Linked DNA regions of Homo sapiens: all the other regions are linked to region 1. The links are contacts of gene promoters, found by promoter capture Hi-C in blood cells and fetal thymus (Javierre and others, 2016). All regions are on one chromosome and are shown on one strand. Each heading gives the region's core, a stretch centred on a gene start or on the middle of the fragment in contact. The rest is flanking DNA. Distances are from core to core; before and after follow the strand shown. Region 1 holds the start of RTN1 (reticulon 1). Region 2 overlaps RTN1 (reticulon 1). Region 3 overlaps RTN1 (reticulon 1).

Region 1 (3,308 bases), core at 231-2,730:
CCTCTGGGAGCACCCCCCACCCCAGGCCTTCTAGCTCTACATTGCCAAAACTACACAACTCCCACTCCACCATAGCAAAGCTTTCTCAGGAAAGAGCACCACACAGCATCCCCTTTCCTCTCCCTGGAAACAGCGTTAACCAGGCCGGCAGCCTCAAAGCGCGCTTCCTGGATCCTTTGACCAGGATGCGCCAGGGGCCTGGGCTCCCGCTGGACACTGGCGCGCTCAGACTTTGAATAGGGCGTCAGGCGAAGAATGGCCAAACCCAGGGCAATTTCCGGGGTGGGGGGGGGGGGGCGCTTAGACTGCTGGTAAACTGTACCACGTCCACTCACCACCACCCAAGCCCTCCAACCCACAGCCAGGCCCGCCGCACTTAGGACTTGAAGTTTCAATGCTCCCTGCAAGGTGGGGCCATCCGGGCAGCGGCGAAATACAGGTTTTGGGCGGGGGCAGCCACAGCACCCAACCCTCTTGCAAAGCTGTGCCTCCCGAATTAGGGACAAACTCCCTGGGATTTGTTTTCTGCGGGAGAAAAGGCGGAGGGATGTGGGGGGAGTAAGGTGTGGTGGCGATTCGTGGAGGGCAAGGGTAAGGGGCAGTTACAGCCACATCTCTGCCCTGGACAGAGCCGGGTCCAGGGGCCGCGGGCCTGCCCGCCGCTCGGTTGTCAGCATCTCCTGTAGCCGGCGCGCACACTGCGCGCAAACACGCCCCCCAAAATCCCCACAACCTGTCAAACGGGCCCTACAGCTCGGAGCCTCCTGGCAGGAGGGAGAAACTTGTACCCAGACTCGCCAGCAGCCAGAATGCTGCTGTTTGCCTATGAGAACAATTTTTAAAGCGGAAATAATCATGATAATGAAATAAAAGGATCAAAAGCATCTTGACTTTTTCTGAGCCTTTGGGAAAAATAAAATTGTTGTTTTCTACCAGCCCGCGAATATTCCCAGTCGCCCGTGGCGACGCGGGGGTGGGGTCGGCGCTCAAGGCAGAAAGCGCGAGGCAGGTGCCCAGGAGAGCCGCGCAGAAGGGGACTGACTGGGGGGCCCTGGTCCCCGACGCCATTTGAGGGGCAGCGGCGCCCGCCTTACCTGTGGATGCAGTTTCCATGGCAACGGGCGACTGCCGGGCGGGGCCCGAGCCGGCTTCCCGCGACGCCGCTTCCCGGGCCCTGGCGCCCAACCCCGGGCTGGGCTCCCCAGCCTGCGGCGCCGGCGTGGCCCCTTTCGGCGTCACCGCTTCGTTCTCCCCCTCCCCCCGGTGCCTGAGCCACTGGGACCCGGGGCCGGCCAGCGGCAGCAGCTCGTCCTGCGGATCCCCCGGCGCGGCCATGGCTGGCGGTCCCCCGGCGCGGCGACGGCGGCTTGGCTGGGCAGAGGCTCGGTGGCTGCGCGGGCGCTCCCTGCTGCTGTCCCCGGAGGGACTCGGCGCTCAGGGAAGCTGCGGTGTCTCAGCGTCGCCGCCGCCTCTGCTGCAACTCCGCCGAGCCGCTGCCTGCCGCTCTTCCCGCTTCAGCTCCTCCTTCTCCCCCCTCCTCTTCCTCCGGCCCCGCCGCGGCCGCTGCCTGCGCTCCTCCTCCTACTCCACTCGCTGCTGCCGCCGCTGCTTCGCTATTCCCAATCCTGTTATTACGCAGGTGAAAATGGCCTGCTTGGTCCGGGTCCTCCTGGGCACGTCAGCCCCCAACCTGCAAATGGCAGGCCCCGGTTAGGGGATGTGCCAAATCCACTCGAATCTTCCTCTCGTTTGGGGAGGAAAAAAAAGGAAGAACCAGCAAGTAGCAGCAGCCACCAGCAGCGTCGCCTTCCCAACTGAGAAAGTTAAGCCCCGACTGGTGTCCTGGGTCCCGAGGCAAAGAGGGAAAGCTAGAGAACTCAGGGCCACAGTTCTGAGAGTGACCAGTATGAGTTGTGGAGGGGACACAGGTCTGAACGGGGAAGGGGTGGAGATGGGTTCTGATGGCAGATGGAGACCAGGGAAGCTGCAACCCCGCGGTTAAATCCTGCGTTTCCAGAATGGGCCTGAAAATAGTGGAGTAAAGAAATGAGTTATCAGGACAGCCTCCAAAAAAAGCTTAACAGATCTCACCCTGACCAGCCCTGAGGGCAAACAGGGTGTCAATAGGCAAGGACAAAAGCTGTACATTTGCTTTCAGAAACACTGAGCCAAGGCCATCCTAATCATAAGCTGTCTGTGCAGTCCGTTGTATTTCAGAATTTGGACATTCCATGAAGCTTGCATCTTTTTCTTTACAGTTCACTGTGATAAAATGGAAGATAGTCAGCAAATAAACCCAAACTCAGAGGAGGAAAGTGACTTGCCTTATCATATGTTGTGCCCATACGAAGACCCATCTTTTCAAATGTCTTGTGTTTTATTGGTTCCCAAGTTGTTTATATAATAAAATAATGTGCCTTTAAAAACTAAGATTCACCACAACACACAGGGTGAAGGAATAGGTTTTTCTGCTGTTTCTTCTCTAGGAAAGGTGGGCGCAGACGGTACCGCACACACTGTGAGACTGTGGGACTCTTGGCCACCATGCGCATCTTGAGGATTTCATACCTGTCCATTGGTATATTCAAAGGCCAACTTCAGGACCATTCAGGTGCTCCTCAATAATGCTAAAATGAAAAAGCCCAGAGTCTGCCTAATCTTTTGTTCTGCTAGTGCACTAATGTTCAAAAGATGACAATAAATTAGAGAAAAATCATTCACTAAACAATAAATATGGCCTCCTGAAGCCAGATATCCCTGGAAATCTGATGGTCACCAAAATTTTACATTTTTGACATACTCAAAATTATGTCTCATGATGGAAATATTCACTATCTAGATTGTGGTTATAGCTTCACAGGTGCAAACATATGTCAAAACTTATTGTTTACTGTAAATATGAACAATTTAATGTGTTGTCAGTTATAACTCAATAAATCTATAAAAATAATCTCATCCAAAAACAACAAAATAATTGGTTATCATGAATCATAATGATTTTTAAACATCTTTCCATGGGAAAACAAGAGTGTATTTAAAAAACCGTTAAGTTGAAAAGCTTATTCCACTGCTGTATTTCCATGGAGCTTAATCCTGTCTTGTAATTAGAGGGCACTTGTAAGTTTTTTCAAATCTATTACTTAGTATTCCCTAAAGCATCAGAAATACTAGATGGGAATTTCTCATGGTTTTATTACTGATAACAAGACAAGAACATAGACAATTCTAATGATATAACCTTAAAGTGGTTATTGATGAATACTAATATTTGAGAATTGCTATGCAAAGGAGTTACATACAAAATAATA
Region 2 (3,308 bases), core at 488-2,987, 240 kb before region 1:
AAAAAAGGAATAATTCACTCCTTACAATTTCTCTTTTGTGCTCATAAGTCCTCCCACCCAGTTACTTATTAGTCAATTTTCAAGATAATGGATTTGTTCCATCTAACAAAAGGAAATCAATGGTACTAAAGATGACCAAAGGTCGCTGAGTATAAAAGATTCTCAATGATCTTCAATTAATCTTCACAAGTAGCTCTGCATCAGAAATGAAAAATTATTGTCTTCAATGGCGAAACTATGACATTTTGTGTTAATTTCTAATGATAAAAGTCCATGTGTTTTTTTAAAACCTCGGAGACATAAACTGAGGCAACCGAGTCAAACCGCATAAGATTGTGATGAAATAGATTAAGATATTTAATTCATAAGATTTTGTGAATATCTTATACAAATAGAAAAGAAAACCTGCCATCTTTGGATATCTACTTTTGTTAAAAATACTAGAAACTCATAATCATGGTCTAAAATCCAGTGTTTATGTCCAACTAAATTTGATCTTATACCAAGCCATAGTTGTTTGTCAGGTGTGTATATCAAATAAACTGGATGGATCTAAACACAGAACAAGAATAAAATGTTACAAAATATTTTCACAGCTGCCTTCTATATTGAACATATGTTCTTCCACGTAATTGTCATCATTCTTCAAAACATTGTGCCTCAACTGGCATACATTTCTTATTTACTGGCTTTTAAATTTATCAGCTCCATCGATTTACTTTTGACAACGGTATTTCCAACACTCACATAATTTGAAGTAGACGACTGTATTTTATGTCATTGCCACCCAATCCAACAAACAAGAGGCAAGGTAAGCAGGCTTTTAATTCTGAGATTTATGTTTACTTTTTCTTAAAATATATACCGAAGCAAAACCCTACAGAGGCATTAAAGATAAAAGGACATCCTATCCTTCCTGTGATATAGAATTACAAGGGGAAGATGCCAGGTTTTTACAAAATCAGCTGCTGCTCCAGAGTATTCTTGGTCTCCTGAGGGATGCTGCAAAACCCTGCAGGTTAAATTAAACGCGCCTTCTTCAGAACCATCTTTGTTAAATATGAAAAGACACTACCTCCGACAAACACCCAAGTTACTACACACAATTCATTCTTGCAAATTATCTTTCTCCTCATACTCTGTAACTGCAAGGTGAATTTTAATGTAACAAAGGAGAGATGGATGTGTGAAGTGTGAGGCTGAATAAAAATGGCTGAAAAGCAATCCAAGCGAGGCTGGAGGGTAGCCACACCCAGTGCTAATATGGACTATTCCAAAATAAATCTGTTATACCAAGGGCCACGGGCACTGTTTCGTTCTTTCCCTCCATTTATTTCACAGATACCTATTATTAATAAATAGTAGTCACAGGTTACTCCAATGACAGAAAAAAACCCCAAATATTTCAAAGTGAACCATCCTAATATGTGGCTACGCCATCATATTTTCAGGATTTCGAGAGCTAGTCTGCATCTCCACTCTCCTTTGTGTGACCACAAATAACAACCCTGAAATGGGTGTGTCCCTCTTAAAAGGATGCACTCCAGCCCTCTCAGTTAATGGTTCTGCCAGGAGATTTCAACCTTTGGGCAGAAATAAATGCACTGGGATGCATGGAACAATAAGAAAGCACTTTAACTCCGGGGATGAGAAAACATTAAACAAGTACTGAATGATGCACAGATCCCAAAAGAACTCCCGGAGGAGGCGATTGATGCATTATTTAAAATACCAGCATTACAACAAGAAAACAAAGGGGTGGGGGTGGGGTTAAAAAAAAAAAGAAAAAAACAACAACCAAGCACCATCCATTTTGATTCTTGAAATAAGAGGTTTACTACCCCCCAACACAAAGCTCTGGGGTATAAAGCATGCACAGGTCCCACAGGTGAAATGATGCACAATGGACGAGTCCAGGTCCCGGGTTTCCCGTGCGCCTCAGGCATGCACTACTGAAATAAAGAGAATACCCTGACTTTTCCAGTTGCTCCACACACAGTCCATCTTGGTGGAATCGGCAGTGGCCTGCATCGTGCGGGCTTTGGGGGCTCGCCGTGGCTCTCCTCGGGGGCGCCGAGCGTGCACTCAAGCGTTGGTGCCCGGCTGCTGCGGCTGGGCTCGCAGTGGCCGCGCGGCTGCGGAGAGACTGAGGCTGCACCAGGCGGCGCGCGGTGAGGGGCGGGAGCGTCGCTGGCGCCGCAGTCTGCGCGGCCGGCAGCGAATCAGCGCGGCGCGGCCCCGGAGCCGCCTGCGCGCATGGGGATGCGGGCGCCGCTCCACGCGACAGCGTTGGCTGGGCTGCCCAAGGGTGCTACCCTGGAGACGGGTAAAGCGGTTCTGGCCGCGAAGGCGCTGACGCGGACAGTGGGTGGGAGGTTTGGGAGGAGGGGAAAAAGGGCTGACGGTGGGGGTGAGAGGAGGAGGACTTGGGCTGTTCCTGGGAGTTCTTGACTCCCAGAATATGCGAGGTGCATATTCTAGAAATTTCTGAGAAACCCAAGAAACCTGCTGGACAAGACCAAGTCAACGGCATCATAAATGTCAGGCTTGCAGCATAATGTTCCCTAATTGTTGCCACCGTTTACCTTTCACTTCTCCCTCTAACTCTTAAAAATCTGAACTCGATGAATTTTAATTGCCCAGAATCTTCTGAAGAATTGCCAGATTCTCTCCTTTTGGAATATTCCACAGATATCCAAAACCTTTGTTGGCAAGCAACAATCACTGGAGAGAAAGCCTACTGCTCTGTCCCAGAGGGCTTGTGTATTTCTTGGGTTACCCCTCTCTGTTTGTGGGTTGAAGGAATCCATGTCAGAATGCGGTGCCTGTAGACCCCAGACCAAAGCCCTTGGACTCTGGTACGTGGAGTCATTGGTCAATGCAGTGACAATCCAAGGGTGTCATTTGTGGGGACGTTCAAACAGAACTCAGGGAAGCAAAGGGCATTCTGTCTCAACAGTGTCATCTTTGGGATTGACCACTGGGGGGCAATGGAGGTGGGTGGTGTGTATTTGGGAGATAAGACTTTTGGCTTCCAAGCCCAGGTAGTTAAGGATGTCAGGAGTCCACAGTTAAAATGCAAATGTCTAAGGAAGGAACAGAACAATGGGTGGTGACCTGCTTTTTAAATCTTACCATAAACTACTTTATCAGAACATACATCAAGACCCTGAAGGAATGGATGGGATAAATGTATTTTGATGAAGAAAAGGTAGAAATAGGAAAGAGAAAGGACTGGAATGTGGGCATTGTCTGGAAAAGAAGGTACTGTTGGAAGGGGTCCCTAGAGGAGACAAGACACTGCATGA
Region 3 (3,308 bases), core at 336-2,835, 160 kb before region 1:
AACCCAAATCTTTCTTATTCTAGAGTTCATGCCTTAATCATAACATAATACTGCCTGTCTCTAGACCAGCCTTAATAACAAACCTTGTTTTTAATTGGGTTCTGCAGTATTCAAAATGAGAAGAAGCATTCATTGCAGAAGGTTTTCCATTTTATGGGGGTTATAAAGTTTCAACAGACTGGTCTTGTGCAAATTCGATAGGCTCAGCTCAGCAAAGAAAAGGCTGAACACAGGCCCACAGTGATATCACCTTCTGCTTTGCCAACTCAAGTCTTTTATTGCCTATGTCAGCTGAACCTCAGAAAGCATCCTTCTCTGCTGACTACATTTGCCCTTTCCTGGGGTGATCACTCCAGGAATGAACAACTGAGAGATAAATGCTCTTCGTGAGTAATAGTAGGAGATCCACATATAATGTTCTCTTCTTAATTAGCCTATTATTCTTTAACTTCTCTTTGGACTCAATAACATTTAAATGTGCTTTTGAAAAAGAACACAAGCTATAAAGCACATTGACATAAAATAAAATCCCACAACAGATTTCAGTGGCTTCACCTTTGTGTATGGAGTTGCCATTCACTTATTTATTAAATGTTTATTAAGACCCCACTACTCACTAGGCATCACTGTAAGCACTAGAGATACAGCAGTGAACAAAAGCCTGTGATCTCAAAAAGCTTAACGTCTACTTGGGAGAGATAGGCAATAAACAAATAAAGGAAGGCATACATCAAGTACTGGGTGATGATAAGTGCTTTGAAGATCTAAGACAAGAGATCATTGTGAAACAGGTCCATGATAGGGACCTCATCAAATTTCCAGTGCGCTCCATGCATCAAGATGCATAGAGTCATGTGACAAATTCTGGCCTACGAGCCATAGGCAAAAGTGACATGTATCATTTCCAGGGGAGGCTTTTAAGAGCTGGTGTCAGCTCTTTCTTCCTCTGGCATGGCAACCTGAGAAGCCATATGTTGATATTCAACTGGCACAGAAGAAAGGGAGCTTGGATCCCTTTGTAGCTGAATAAAGGAAAGCCTCCACCAAATAGCAATAGTTGAAAGCCAGAAATACATGTTTGTTGAGCTAAGCCATTGAAATTTTGAGGTTTGTTACTGTAGTATGGCCTAACAGAGTCAAAAGAGTAAGGCACACACCTGAGGCTAAGGGAGGATTGTGGAGGGAGCCCCAAAATACATAGGCCTAAAGATAACAAAAATCTATATACAGCAGATAGAGCTAAGTGGTATCCAACCCTGGCTGGACATTTTAAATCAGCTGGGGCATACTAGAAAATACTGATCTACAGATGTTATATCCACATATTATATTCTGAGATATTATGGGTGAGGAACTAAGCATATATTTATTGAAAACTACAGTCAACAGAAAATGACAAATTGGGTCAGCTGGCTTTAGGAAACCTCCCGAGAGGCAACCTGTCCCACAATATACTTTGGAAAGAGCTTATTAGTGAGATCAATTCAACTTCCGATAAATTGTTGGAAAGCAGTCAATCAAACTGTGACATAAGAAGAAAACTTGCAAACTTACTAACTGAAATGTTATGAAACAGTATGTTGCAGAAAGTATTCCTGCATTAAATAAGTAATTAGGCCGGGCGTGGTGGCTCACACCTATAATCCCAGCACTCAGGTAGGCTGATCACCTGAGGTCAGGAGTTTGAGACCAGCCTGGGCAACATGGTGAAACCCTGTCTCTACTAAAAATACAAAATTAGCTGGGTGTGGTGGGGCATGCCTGTAATCCCAGCTACTTGGGAGGCTAAGGCAGGAGAACTGCTTGAACCTGGGAGGTGGAGGTTACAGTGAGCTGAAATCACTCCCATTGCACTCCAGCCTGGGTGACAAGAGTGAAACTCCATCTCAAAAAAAAAAAAAAAAATGAGTAACTGTATTAGATTCTCCCAAAGCCCCATCTCATTGTATAATTATTATTAAAATAAATATTTAAATAGCAACAACATTAGAGGATAAGCACTTTACCTAAATTATCTCAAATAATCATCCCAAGAATCCAGTGATGTAGGTACTATTATCTCCTTTGAACAGACAAAAAAATCGAAATGCAGACAGGTTAACTTGTCCAGAGTCACATAGCTAGTAGTAAGTGGAGAAGGTAAGACCCAGATCCAATTGGCGCACGATTCTTTAACGCAGTGAAAAGGGGATGTGCAATCAAAACGATACGGTGTCTTGAGGGAGGGAATCTAGACAAGGGGCCACTGGTGGGGGAAAGGACCTCAGGCATGGGGTTGGGAGCAGCTGCTGTGATTCTAGTTGCGGATTCCCAGTCCTTTGAAAACAGAACAGTTTCACAGGATGCCAAAGCATGATGGAAATTTCCGATGAGAACAATCTACTCTTTTTGCTCCAGGCAATAATGAGCTGAGCTCCCCACTAGGATGAAGTTCCCCTCATACATTTCCAGTGTAACTCATAACTTGGCATTCTGGTTTCGACCAGACTCAGACAAGCTTCAGAACACTTACTGCTGAGAATGGGTCCTTGGACTAAGGAAAATACTGCAAAAAGTCACAAGCATGTCTTACCCTCAGGCAGCTCACTGCTTCGCCCAATTCAGAGAGAATCAGTGATTTCCCAAGTTTGCTAGTCTAGCCCTAGACAGGGACTTCAGTTTTCCTAGGTGTCTCCTAGCTTTTAGAGAGTGCCAGCTACTCACCTTGTGGTTATACAAGATTTGTATAGTTTTTAATGACAACATTTCAGGAAGAAGCAATAAAACATCTTGAAGACAGAACTGTCTTTTTAAAATTTGCTCAGAATTACCATACCAGTAATTCCAGCAGTTGAGCAAAGGACAGTACCAGCAAAGGACAGTATAAAGGGGAAAGGAACAGAGAAGAAGCAAGACCTATAAAATTATGCTTATAAAAATTAGACTAATAGGCCGGGTGCGGTGGGTCACGCCTGTAATCCCAGCACCTTGGGAGGCCGAGGCAGGCAGATCACGAGGTCAGGAGTTCCAGGCCAGCCTGGCCAACATAGTGAAACTCTGTCTCTACTAAAAATAAAAAAAATTGGCCAGGCATGGTGGCAGGCGCCTGTAATCCCTGATACTTGGGATGCTGAGGCAGGAGAATTGCTTGAACCCAGGAGGCAGAAGTTGCAGTTAGCCGAGATTGTGCCATTGCCTCCAGCCTAAGTGACAGAGTGAGACTCCGTCTAAAAAAAAAAAAAAAAAAAAAATAGACTAATTTTATTATGGGACATGTGCCACAACATACATTCTAACTATAGATCTTCTTTCTCAATTTTATATTACAT

The links. Contacts are between HindIII fragments. The CHiCAGO score rates a contact against its expected background, and 5 or more counts as called.
Region 2: a contact is called between a fragment that was not itself captured here and the fragment with the promoter of RTN1 in region 1, in 4 of 17 cell types (M1 macrophages, M2 macrophages, megakaryocytes and 1 more). The highest score is 7.5, in M1 macrophages.
Region 3: a fragment that was not itself captured here is called in contact with the fragment with the promoter of RTN1 in region 1 in 1 of 17 cell types (M1 macrophages); the score reaches 5.6 in M1 macrophages.

What each region holds. Positions count from the first base shown.
Region 1 is chr14:59,869,296-59,872,603 of GRCh38, forward strand. RTN1 (reticulon 1) reads right to left here and starts at 1,481. Exons shown (of 9, transcript NM_021136.3): 1 at 1,095-1,481. The coding sequence starts at 1,335. RefSeq lists a silencer at 1,390-1,489. The HindIII fragment of the contact is 1,996 bases long and covers 79-2,074 here.
Region 2 is chr14:59,628,476-59,631,783 of GRCh38, forward strand. All of the region lies in intron 3 of RTN1 (reticulon 1), which reads right to left. Among named protein-coding and RNA genes, the nearest start is that of MIR5586, 17 kb to the right of the region's middle. The HindIII fragment of the contact is 3,798 bases long and covers 1-3,308 here.
Region 3 is chr14:59,711,025-59,714,332 of GRCh38, forward strand. All of the region lies in intron 3 of RTN1 (reticulon 1), which reads right to left. Among named protein-coding and RNA genes, the nearest start is that of MIR5586, 66 kb to the left of the region's middle. The HindIII fragment of the contact is 1,820 bases long and covers 676-2,495 here.